Linked DNA regions of Homo sapiens: region 2 is linked to region 1. Evidence: promoter capture Hi-C in human tissues and cell types (Jung and others, 2019). All regions are on one chromosome and are shown on one strand. The core of a region is centred on a gene start or on the middle of the fragment in contact, and the rest is flanking DNA. Distances in the headings are between cores, read along the strand shown. Region 1 holds the start of CASKIN1 (CASK interacting protein 1). Region 2 holds the start of KCTD5 (potassium channel tetramerization domain containing 5).

Evidence for each region. The method cuts DNA at HindIII sites, captures the fragments that hold promoters and counts their contacts. A contact is called where the count stands out against the background at its distance.
Region 2: the fragment with the promoter of KCTD5 here is called in contact with the fragment with the promoter of CASKIN1 in region 1 in 1 of the 25 tissues and cell types used here (lymphoblastoid cells).

Annotation. Positions count from the first base shown.
Region 1 is chr16:2,193,647-2,199,771 of GRCh38, forward strand. CASKIN1 (CASK interacting protein 1) reads right to left here and starts at 2,959. Exons shown (of 20, transcript NM_020764.4): 1 at 2,693-2,959. The coding sequence starts at 2,786. The HindIII fragment of the contact is 36,898 bases long and covers 1-6,125 here.
Region 2 is chr16:2,679,876-2,686,000 of GRCh38, forward strand. It overlaps KCTD5 (potassium channel tetramerization domain containing 5), which reads left to right and starts at 2,648. Exons shown (of 6, transcript NM_018992.4): 1 at 2,648-2,925. The coding sequence starts at 2,674. RefSeq lists a silencer at 2,731-2,910 and enhancers at 3,006-3,616, 3,161-3,210, 3,281-3,330. The HindIII fragment of the contact is 14,940 bases long and covers 1-6,125 here.

The DNA of each region.
Region 1 (6,125 bases), core at 1,709-4,208:
CTGGAGGTCAAAGCCCAGAAAGTAACATCTGCCAGTGGGGGAGGGTGTCTCCCTCAGGAAGGGGACCACCCCCATGTGAGGAGGGGTGCCTTACTAAAGCCATCTCGTCCCTCTCCCCACTTATGGTCTCCTCAAGGGGGAAACTGGCTGAAATTGGATGGCAGCAACTTGAGGTCTTGGGACACACTAACCCCCATTCCTGTGGGGGGACAGTGGGTACCCAGGAAGGTCCCAGAACTGAGAAGGGCCTGGGGCTGGGGGCTGTTTTCACCTGGAAACGGGTTCTCTGGATGAAGCAGGAGCAGAGCATGGCTGGAGGGGGCCGGGGCCAGGATGAAAGTCCAGGAGCCCCCCTCCCTCTCCACGAGGTCCCTAAGCCCTGTGACTCTATGACAGTAAAGGCCTTACCCCCGACCAGCCCTCTCACTGCTATCCTGAGCCTGTCCCCACCTCTGGGGTCCAGTCCATATCCCAGGCTAGAAGGGAGCTACTAGTGGGCTATTAGAAGGTGAGAGGGGGATGGGGAGCTGGCCCTCGGTGCTCAGGGGTGTCCTCCACGGCATTCTTGGGCCTGCCTCCATGGACAGGGGGCCTCCATGGATAGGGTCCGGGTCAGAGGGAAGAGTGGGTCCCTCCTGGCCAGCAGGAGGCCAGCCCCTGCACCGGCATCTCCCCCAGAACAGGCTCCTCTTCCCCTCAAGGACAGCTGCTAAGTGTGTGCGTGCGGGCACGGGAGGCTCCCTTCAGGGCAGGGCGAGTCGGGGGCTGGCTGAGCCTGGGGTGACTCTGGAGCAGGGGCTGGAGGGAAGGGACTGGGCAACCAGAGGGGACCATGGAAGCAAAGCTCATGGGGACAGCCCTGGGCTCACGGGGCCCTGGAGGATACTGCTGGACACCCCCCACCTCGTGGCCCAAACTCAGCTGTACTTTACTGAATCAAAATACATCTTACTCCAAAGCAGGCCAGCGTTGCCATGACGACGGAGCTAATTCATGGAGGGATTTCTCCTCTGATTTATTACACCCGCCCCTGTGAGTCAGAGAGCAGGAGCCGGGGCCAGGGCAGGTGTCTCTCCTGTCCCAGAGGCCAGGCAAGACAGGCAGAGACCCAGGTGAGAGTGGAAGCCCCCACACCTCCCCAGAATGGCCACAATAGAAGGGAGGAGGAACCTCCCCAGAGCTGAAGCCCCCACTTCCCCAGCCCCTGGCCCTGGGCCGTCCAAGACTGCGGTCATTGCTGGCATTTACTGAGCACTTACTGAATGCCTGGGCTGCAAGTGCCCAGGCTCACTGGTCTTAGGACCCCACCGTGAGGCTGACATCCCATCCTACAGACGAGGAGACTGAGGTCCACTGAGCTGGAGTTGTCTGTGTCCAAGGTCATGCGGCCACTAGGTGGAAACCTTTACCTTGCCTTCCCTCAATCCCTACACCTGCTCTCCAGGCTCAGCTGAGGCTGCCTCTGCCCACAAGCTCTCCCTTTCTGAGCCCCCGGACCTGAAATCAGCTCGGGGCCAGCCTGCAAGGCACCGGTGCCCCCTCTCTCTTACTGCACAGAGTGGACAGGAGCTAGCCAGTCATGGGCTGCTGGTGAAGTACGGGGGAGGGGGTCCTCCTGGGACTCCTAGGTGCCCCCAACAATCTCCCAGAAGCCAGTCCCAGTTCTCGGCATCCCCCTGGAGGAAGGGGAGGGGGACTCTCTGGCTTACAGTCTGTGGGGGTGGAGGGAGGAGGGAGGACGCCCAGACCCCACGTGCCGACCTGCAGAGCCCTGTCCGTGCCCGCACAGGTGCCCTGACACACTGACACGGCTATACGTGCGCAGCCGCACACGCGGCTGGTCCACACGCCCATCCATCCATCTCCGGCGGCCCCCAGGGAGGCTACGCGCTGAGCCAGGATGAGTGCTGGGACCAGGGCTCCAAGCTCCCAGCCCTTTCCTGGGGCCGGCCATAGGGCAAGCTGGGGATGGCCAGTGGTGGTCCCCCACTCCCTCATGGCCTCCTTTCCCAGCAGGGAAGCTGGAGACCCGGCTCTGCTGGAGCCTGCCTGAGCAGGGCCCCAAGCCCTTGCGCCCAGGCCGGCCCTGCCTGGAGTCCAGCCTGCCCTGGGCTGGGCGACCTTGGGCCTCTGCTCTCCCATCAGTAAATGGCACCCCACCGGCCATGCCAGGGCAGCCACACCCCCAGCGTGGTCCTGCCCCCACCTTCCCTGCAAAGCGTGTTATTAAACGTGGGGCGGGAGGGGGTCTGCTAGGGACTGTCACCTCCCGGGTCGCCCCTCGCCGCAGGGGCCCCCTCCCTGTCTTCCCGGTGCGTGTGGTGGGTGGGGGGGGCATCCGCCTCGCCCTTTGAAGGCCCCAGCAGAGACCTCCAGCTGTCAGCCCGCAGCCTGGGAAGGGAGGGGGACAGAGGTAGAGAGAGAGGGATGCGAACGCCCGCGGCCCGGGAGGCGGGTGCCGCCAGGTGCCCGCTGCGGGGCTCACGGTGGCGGCCGGCTCTCGGGGCCGCCCCATCTCCAGTGCTGGGGGCAGCGGGTGGAGGGCACGGACCAAGGGTCTGGGCGCTGCTGGCCCCGCCCCGCCCCCGGGGACCCGACAACGTCCCCTCCCCGCCCGGCGCCGGGTGGGGGGCTCCGCGCCGGGGAGGGGCCCCCGGGGCTCCCACCCGCGCCCCGCGCCCCCGGCACTCACTGGCCTTCCCGGGCCGCGGCCTCTGCAGCAGCCTCTGCGCGGTCCCTACGTCCTCCGCCTTCACCGCCTGCACCAGCTCCTGCTCCTTCCCCATGGCGCGGCCGGGGCCGCAGCGACGCGGCTGCGCTCGTGAGCTCGGCGCGGCTCAGAGGCGGCGGCGGCCCCGCGGCACCGGCCGCCTCCCCCGCCGCCTCCCCCGCCGCCTCCTCGCCGCCCGCCGCCCCTTCGCCCTCCTCGGGCTCCGGCTTGGGCTCGGGCTCCCGGCGCGGAGGGGGCGGGGAGCGCGTCACGGGCGGGGGGCGGCCCGGGGGCGGGGGCGCGCGGCGGGCGCGGGGCGGGGGCGCGGCACCTGGCGCCGCCTCCCGGACGCCGGGGTCCGCTCCCGGGCCGCCGACCTCCGTCAGCCCGCGCCGGCCGCGCGCCCGGGCCCGTGGCTCCGCCCTCCCCGCGCCCGCCCCGGGACGCCCCCTCCCCACGTGCGCGCAGCGCGCTCAGGCCAGGCCTCTGCGGACGCGGGCGGCCTGGGGCTGCTAGCCGGGCTGGGGACGCGGCCGCCGGGGGTGCACTGGGAGCCCCGACGCGGCGGCGGCGCGGGGCTGAGCCCAGAGAGGCTTCCAGAGGCTGCGGGACCCGCGGGGGACGGTTCCGAGGCAGCGGGCGGGCGGGGACCGGGCGCCGAGAGACCCGGGCGCCAGTGCCCCTGGAGCCGGCCCGCCAGGCTGTCAGGCGTTCCTGGCCCAGGGTTCCCGTGGGAGGTGTCGAGGGATTGTGAAGAGGAATCTCCCAATAATGAATTCGGTGTCAGGGAACCCGCACCCCCAACCCCCAAGCATCCTCCTGCTCCTCTCCGCAAATAATGCGGGCGCCACAGCTTCCCCCAGCCTCAGTCCGAAGCCTGACCCCAAGGTAGCCCCCACCACCCCCACTGAGGGAGCTCAACTCCCCACTCCCCGCACCGACTGGGGGTCGCCTCCATCTCCATCCACAGGGGCTGGAACCTCCCGCCGGCACCAACCGACCCCCGGCCCACGTCTGCCCACTCTCCAGCCTGCAGCCCAGGCAGGCGAGTCCTGCTTCCTGGGTGCTGGAGGCCCCGACTTGTGACCCTCTGAGCTCCTGGCTGAAGGCTTGGGCCACCCTGCGCCTCAGGCCCTCTCCCGTCAGGCCTGCAGCATTCTAGAGGCAGATCAGTGGGGGTCTGAGTCCCGACTCAGGCTCCGTTTCCCTCATCACCCAAGCGGGCAAGGCCGTTTGGAGAATTTGGGGAGGGTCGCACCCATTCTATGAGGCATGGCCTGGCACCCCACTCTGTGTGGCCCCAGACCATTGAGCAGGTCCAGGGGGACAGAGGAGGTCAGACAGCAGGGACAGGGAAGGTGACAGGCACCGGGGTCCCGGCATCCTGTGGGCAGCTGGCCGTTCCCGTTCCCTCCGTGGGGTCTCCTGTTAGGTTCAGGTAGCAGCCCTTGGTCTTCCAGCACTCCTGGGAGGGGTCCCCAAATGCTAGGGCCTTTCCTCTTGCCCTTTCCAATGACCAGTTGAGTACCCGCTGGGTCAGGCACTGTGCTGGTCACCTCCTAGATGAGGTTGGACTCACTGTCCCCATTTTACAGATGAAGAAACTGAGGCTCAGAGAAGCCAAGGGGCTCACCTGGGGTCCCAGAGTCTTGAGGTTGTAAGTCTGGGCTTTGCACCCGCACCTCTGGATGTGTCCTATTCCCCCTCTTAGTGGTTTGTGACCATGAGCTGGTCACTTTGTCATTCTTTTTTCTGAGACAGGGTCTCGCTCTGTCGTCCAGGCTGGGGTGCAGTGACGCCATCATAGCTCACTGCAGCCTCAACATCCCAGGCTCAAGCAGTCCTCCCGCCTCAGCCTCCTGAGTAGCGCCCGGCTAATTTTTTTTGATTTTTAATAGAGATGAGGTCTCAGTATGTTACCTAGACTGGTCTCGAACTCCTGGCCTCAAGCAGTCCTCCCACCTCAACCTCCCAAAGTGCTGGGATTGCAGACGTGAGCTACCACACCCAGCCCACTGCCTAAGTGTCTGTGCCCCTCTGTAAAATGAGGATATGCATGCTACCTCCCCTTAGGTTACTGGAGGATAAATTGTGATACTATCCACAAAGCATTTCACGGCAGGACTTAGTAAGTGCTCAAAAAAATGGCTGCTGTAGATATTGTGATATTCTTGGGCCTCTCTGCCTGTGCAGCAACTGTGTTTTGTGCATCTTTGTATCTACGCTACCTTGCAGTGTGAAGAGCACATAGGAAGAACTAAAAATAAAAATAAGATAGCTGCTGGCATTACTATTACTTTTATGTTTTGGACATGTTAAGGCAAACCACCCTGACCTGTGCTTAACACACAAACAGAAGCCCACACACCAAATGTTCAAATATTTAAACGCTACAAATCACGCCAGTCACCTGTTAAGTATGTTCTATTCTCCTACCTTGACAAATATACCTTCATCATGGCCTGAAAGCCCAAGTTCGAATTGAGAATTCTCAGATTCCTCGGGTGATGAACTGGCCCCCGTTTGTAGCTACCTCACCTGTTCTCTGCTCAGCTCCAGCACTGTCCACACCCCATAAACAGGCACCCCCTTAGTCGCTCCTCAGAGCTAGGGTGGGCACCCTGCTGCGTGGCCCACCTTCAGGAGGACAGACTGGGCAGAGGGCTGTGCCGATCCTGGAAGTGGGCTTGGGGCTGTTTGGGCAGGAAACTCCAGGGTCCTACGTGCTCAGAGTGTGGTCTAGAAGGGGCACCTAGGCTCCAGGTGGATTGCTGCTCAGGACCTCAGAGATTCCTCACCCCATGGGGTGCAGTGTGGCAGGAGGGGACCAGAGCCTTCTGCTAGGTGAGGATAAGCCCAGGAGGGACTGGGAAGCGTTGGATCTGATGCTGTAACCAGTAACTTTGGGTGAGTCCCCGATGCTCAGCTGCCTCATCTGTGAAATGGGCCAGCAGCTCCGCCTGCAGCTTAGGGCTGACGGGAAGGTCCCCATGAAAACAGATGTGTGTCTGCCTGGGGTCCCTGCAGCCTGGGGATGGGGGGGCAGGGCAGGTGGCCACTCTGGCTGGGGGATGAGGATGCAGAGGTGTGGGACTCGGGCAGCCCTCCAGGAAGTCAAGCCTCCAAGGATGATCCTGGGAGGGGGCCTCTGAGCCAGCAGAATTGCTGAGGCTCAGCCTGGAATGGAGCTGGCGGAGGCTTCACTGCAGCCTGGGCTGGCCTCCTTCCCAGATGTACGGTGTGTGCCGGCCAGCCCGCAGCCCCTTCCTCTGCCCACTGGCTGTGTGTCTGCTCAGGGGCTCCCTGGTGGTCCCCCAAGCCCCCAAAGCTCTGGTATGGGCATGAGGAACGTGCCCTCCCATGGGCTGGCTGCTGTGGCTCCTCTCATTCTTGTGGCACCGCCTCTGACAGCACT
Region 2 (6,125 bases), core at 1,398-3,897, 490 kb after region 1:
GCGATATTTTCAGAATCTTGTACTTCATGTCCACAATGGTATTGAATTTGCAACTGCGCAGTCAGCAGAGATAACAAGTGTTGAACTGACCTTGCCACATGCTTAGTGAGTGATCTGTAATTAAGTTTATAGACTCAGAAAGTACATTAGGCCATTTGGAGTCAGTAGCAGAGCAAAGCCTCTACTTGAAAAAAACCACGTAGCTGATTGGGTTTTACAAGAGTGCATTTGTCTCCCCCTTCCACCCCCCCACCTTCAGGTCTTAGTGGTTCACAAGAGCCCAGCAGCCAGGCTGGCTTTTTCATTGTAGGGCGTGGTTGTCCCAGCTGGTGTAGATTTCAGGCCGCCTCCCCCCATCTCCCTGCCCACAGTGTTGCAGATTGCCTGGCTGGCAGCAAGTCCAGACCACCCAAATTTGGTTGGATTCTTCATTTCTCCACTGTAGTTGGGGTCCATTGATTGTGCAGGGGAACGTGCAGGAGGTTTTTCTAGGCACTGCGTTCAGTGCTGCTTCACTCTACCAGAGATTATGGCCAAATTGCACGGAATTTGGTTTCTTGCCCTCTGAAGCCTGAGGGCCCCCCCTTGCCTGGCTGGTTGACAGACCCGGGGTGCTCACTGCTGAGACTTCAGAGATCGCAGCTGCTGTGAGAATACGGTGAAGGTACTATGTTCTGGAAGATGTTGTCATACACTTTTCCCCAGTTATTTTCAAACTTGACATGAGCCTATGTTGACTCACTGGGTGGGGTCCCTTCTTACGCAGCACACGTGGCAAGTGCCTGAATCGGGGCTGGAGGCACTTCAGAGCCTCTGAGGGGCCACCACTTCTGGCCCAAAATTGCAGGGTTGTAGATGAGGCTGCCTGTGGAGAACTGGTGTGAGGAGGAAGCTGTTTCCAACAAAGAGCACTTTCATCTGTTGAGATGGCTGTGGTGAGCAACTGAACGAGCCTACGTGTGTACCTGAATTTTCCCCATAACTCATTTCTTCCATATGAAGAAACACCAAACTATGTACAGAGAACTTTTTACAAAAGGCAGACCTTTTTTAAGCTGTGTAACCCACATAGCCTAACCGTCTGGCAGAATGACTACGAATAGGGGTCATTGTGCTGGTAAAAGCCTCTATTACGACTGTTAAGTTGGATGTTGGCAAAATTAAATTGTTACAGTATTTAGAGCTGCTGTAGCTGTTCCTTCACAACATGAAATAGGATAAATGACTAGTACGTCTTTCAGGTGGGTGGCAGTCAGAACATGCGTAATATTCTCTACCTGGTCTGTAGCTGTAACTGTGATGTACAGACAAAGCAAAAATTAAAAGAACTCATGAAAACAAATAATACAATGGTATTAGGATATACACTTTTGTGTTTTTAATCTTATAGAAGGTTATTTGCTGGCTATTGTTGGCCTCTAGTTCAGCCTGTTATTTAAATTCTTTTTTTTTCTTGAGACGGAGTCTCACTCTGTCGCCCAGGCTAGAGTGCAGTGGCCTGATCTCGGCTAACTGCAACCTCCGCCTCCTGGGTTTAAGCAATTCTCTGCCTCAGCCTCCGAGTAGCTGGGATTACGAGCGCCCACAACCACATCTGGCTAATTTTTTGTATTTTTGGTAGAGACGGAGATTCACCATCTTGGCCAGGCTGATGTTGAACTCCTGACCTCGTGATCCACCCACCTTGGCCTCCCAAAGTGTTGGGATTACAGACATGAGCCACCGCGCCCGGCCTAAATTCTAATATATGAATTATTTGTATTGAATTCATGTTCGGGGCCACGTTGTTATATGTATTGATATACAGCCTTGAATGTGAATAATTACTATATATTTTACAACTTTTTTCTGGCTTTATTACAAAAACTTTCTTTTTTTTTTTTTGAGACAGACTCTCGCCCTATCACCAGGCTGGAGTGCAGTGGCGAGATCTCAGCTCACTGCAACCTCTGCCTCCCGGGTTCACGCCATTCTCCTGCCGCAGCCTCCCGAGTAGCTTGGATTACCGGCGCCCACCACCGCGCCAGGCTAATTTTTGTATTTTCAGTGGAGACCGGGCCTCACCATGTTGGCCAGCGTGGTCTCGATCTCCTGACCGCCTGATCCTCCCGCCTCGGCCTCCCAAAGTGCTGGGATTACAGGCGTGAGCCACCAGGCCCCGCCCTTATTATATAAATTTTCTATTGGGTCAATGATTTAATCATATAATTTAATGAATCTGTTCTTTTTTTCCCCCCAAATATTTGTGCTTTAGGTGTAGTTACCAGATGATGAATTTTCCTCCTATGCTCCGTAGTCTTGTAATAAAAAGCATGTACAGTGTAGACGTTTGCTGGCATGGCTCTTCCTTTGACCAGTTCATGAACTGGAGTCAGGGTGGGGGTGAAGGCTAGGGTCGAGGTCTGGGTCAGGCGCTCGTGCACCGCTCGTGGGAGGTCGAGGCTGATGTCCGCTGCTCCCCATCAGCGTTAGTGCCCAGATCACCCCGTGCTCCGCTCCCGCCGGAAGCGGGCCCAGCCTCCTGCTTTTCGGGACCGGAACTTCCGCCTACCGCGTGACGCCGGGGCGGGCGCTCTACCAGGGCGGACCTGTGGGCGGGACAGAACTCAGAGGACGCTATTAAAAGCCGGACGCTTCCGGTGGAAGGGAGCTGTTGCGGGGCTTGCTGGGATCATGGCGGAGAATCACTGCGAGCTCCTGTCGCCGGCCCGGGGCGGCATCGGGGCGGGGCTGGGGGGCGGCCTGTGCCGCCGCTGCAGCGCTGGGCTCGGCGCCCTGGCCCAGCGCCCTGGCAGCGTGTCCAAGTGGGTCCGACTCAACGTCGGCGGCACCTACTTCCTCACCACTCGGCAGACCCTGTGCCGGGACCCGAAATCCTTCCTGTACCGCTTATGCCAGGCCGATCCCGACCTGGACTCAGACAAGGTGAGGGCCTCACGGGCCAGCCCGGAGGGTCCTGGCCTTCCCGGCCTGCGGCTCCTGCACACGCCCTGCTTCGTGCGGAGGAGACTTCAGCGGGAGCGGGCGACTCTCCTCGGGCTTCGAGCCCCGCGCTCCCTTGTCGCCAGCTCCTCCCCAGCTTGCCCCGATCCCCTACCCTGGGAGGGGAGGGTGAGGATGGCGCCCTGGCGTCCACTGCCTTTGAGGATCCTGAGTCGATTCACCTTGGGGGTGTCTCTTCCTCGCCCTCTTTGCTCTTTGGTGGAGGAGGCTTCCTAGACCCCGGACTTTGCTGTGATTCTACTTTCTTTTTCTCACTAGGTTCTTTTGCCCAGGGTGTGTGAACGCCTTCTCTTCTCTGTCCCAGGGTACTTGCTGGCTCTGGAAACAGAACCCTTGGCGTTGTTTCACATTCTGGACGTTTGAATTAACGCTGACGTGGGGGTTGATATGGGCGGCCCTTTTTTTCCCTGGTGACTTGCATTTAGAGAGTTGGCGCTCCATCCTTTCCATCCACAGCACGCAGCACCCACTCAGCACCTCTTAGAAGATGCGTCCGTAGTATATAGTATGATTTTTCGAAGGGGATTTTGCTCATATTAAGGGTTGCTTTAGGGATGTCCAGGAAGGGTCAGGTAAGGAATCTTTCAATCTGCTTTCTAATTGGCTTAGTTTTCCCACTGTCTTCGCAAAAGGACAGGAATTTCCAGGTTAGTTTGCAGCTTGTCTTTCATCAAGCGAAATGCTCATGCTGTTGGGTAGATGGTAATAGAAACCTTTTGCTACCTTTATTTATCAAGAGTTGTGGAGCCGAGGAACCGTGTCTTGGGAGTTGTGCAGGATTGAAACTCACAAAAAAGCCTGTTTGAAGAAGTTGTTACCTATATTTATTCAAGGCAGTTCACAAGCCTTATACTAACTTTGCGGGGTCTTTCAGTTGAGCTTACATGACTGCGCTTGGCTTTGTGCCTTGGCAGCCAACATTTGCCATGCAGGAGGCTTCCCAGAAAGGTTCGGATCCCTCTTCAAGTTTGAGAAGCCTGACTGAGACCATTCTCAGCATGGCATGACCGTGATCAGGAAGTGAGAATCTGGAGTTACTGCTAAGGCAGCCTTGTGGGTGGAAATGAGGGTTTGAGATGCCAACCCTCCTGTGCCTCCCCACAACTTCCAACTGTTTCCATTGCTCATTTGACCAAGCCCTCTACTCAGAGAATTGACCTCCCAGGAAATGACAGTCATCCCCAGGATAGAAATAGGCGTTTGTTAGCTGTGATTTTCCTTTTATAAGTGTGGGTGTATGTTTTACTGTTTGGTTTTTCTTTTTAAATAACAGGGCTTAGTGGTCACTCCCTTGCCTTTCTACTCAAGCATTCCTGTTTTGTATATGAAATTAGAGTTTAAATTGCTCTTGTCCATTGGGTTCTTTGAGGCAATGGTTGTCTATTCAGCACTGGAGCACTTGATTCCCAGTTGATGAACTTTAGCACAGTTAAGGTGGTTGATCCCTTTGCTTTACTGTTCCTTAAGACTTTGTTAAAAATTATGGGCCAGGCGCGGTGGCTCATGCCTGTAATCCCAACACTTTGGGAGGCCCAGGCAGGTGGATCTCGTTCAAAACCAACCGGGCCAATATGGTGATGCCCGGTCTCTACTAAAAATACAAAAAGGTGGGCGCGGTGGCTCACGTCTGTAATCCCAGCACTTTGGGAGGCCGAGGCAGGCGGATCACGAGGTCAGGAGATCGAGACCATCCTGGCTAACATGATGAAACTCTGTCTCTACTAAAAATACAAAAAATGAGCCAGGCGCGGTGGCGAGCACCTGTAGTCCCAGCTACTAGGCAGTCTGAGGCAGGAGAATGGCGTGAGCCTGGGAGGAGGAGCTTGCAGTGAGCCTAGTTAGCGCCACTGCAGTCCAGCCTGGGTGAAAGAGCAAGACTCCATCACAAAAAAAAAAAAATAAAAAAAAAATAAGCCAGGTGTGGTGGCGCGTGCCTGTAGTCCCAGCTACTCTGGAGGCTGAGGCAGAAGAATCGCTTGAACCTGGGAGGTGGAGCTTGCAGTGAGTCAAGATCACGCCACTGCACTCTAGCTTGGATGACAGAGGAAGACTCTGTCTCAAACAAACAAAAAAATGCTTTACTGTAGGAATCAATTCTTTGAGCGAGGGGTAATTAATCTTTCTGAATATATCTGTGTTATACTTGCTCTTTTCATCATCATCCATTTAACCAGGTTTGATTTCCAAATGGTAAACTCAAATTCAGAACATGAAGGTAAAGTAGCAGATACAGTCGTCTCTGTCTCATACAATAATTGGAGTAGGGGCCGGGCAAGGTGGCTCACGCCTGTAATCCCAGCACTTTGGGAGGCCGAGGCGCGTGAATCACCTGAGGTCAGGAGTTTGAGAGCAGCCTGGCCAGCATGGCAAAACCCCGTCTCTACTAAAAATACAAAAAAATTAGCTGGGCATGGTGGCGCGTGCCTGTACTCCCAGCTACTCGGGAGGCTGAGGCAGGAGAACCACTTGAACCGAGAGGCAGAGGTTACAGTGGGCTGAGGTTGCGCCACTGCACTCCAGCATGGGCGACAGATCGAGACTCTGTCTCAAAAAAAAAGAAAAAAGAAAAGGAGAAAACAATAATTGGAGTAAATAAGGTTAGTTTTAGTGACAGATAGTTTGCCAAAAGTGTAGTGCTAATTCATATTAGTCACGTTACTAAAGTGTTTTCCGGTGTTTTTCATCAAATGAGGAAATGTGTAAAATGCTTCATCTTAGTTTTGTCTCCAGTGGCTCTGATGAAAGAATGTCCCAGGAGATTCCTCCTAATTAAATGCTGACTGAGGAATCTGAGGAGGGGGGGAAGGGGTGTCAGGAGTGGGAGGCCATTAATGACACGTTGGAAGACAAACAGGATGTTGATTCACCTGTAAAGATCTCCAAGGCCTGACCTCAGAGTTGAGATTAAGGAAAGAATATTCCTCGAGTTGGACTTAAGCATGGATCTGGTGGAAGAGTCCCTGCCTGGATTATTAGACTTGTGTGGAGTGAGCACCTGGGCTTGCAGAGTGTGGGGGTCTGGAGAGGAGTTGGGTGGGGAGATTTAAGGGGGAGGAGTTCCCAAGAAACCACAGAAGCTTTGGGTGCCTGAGAGGTTGGGAGAGCACCCTGCTAAAGCATCC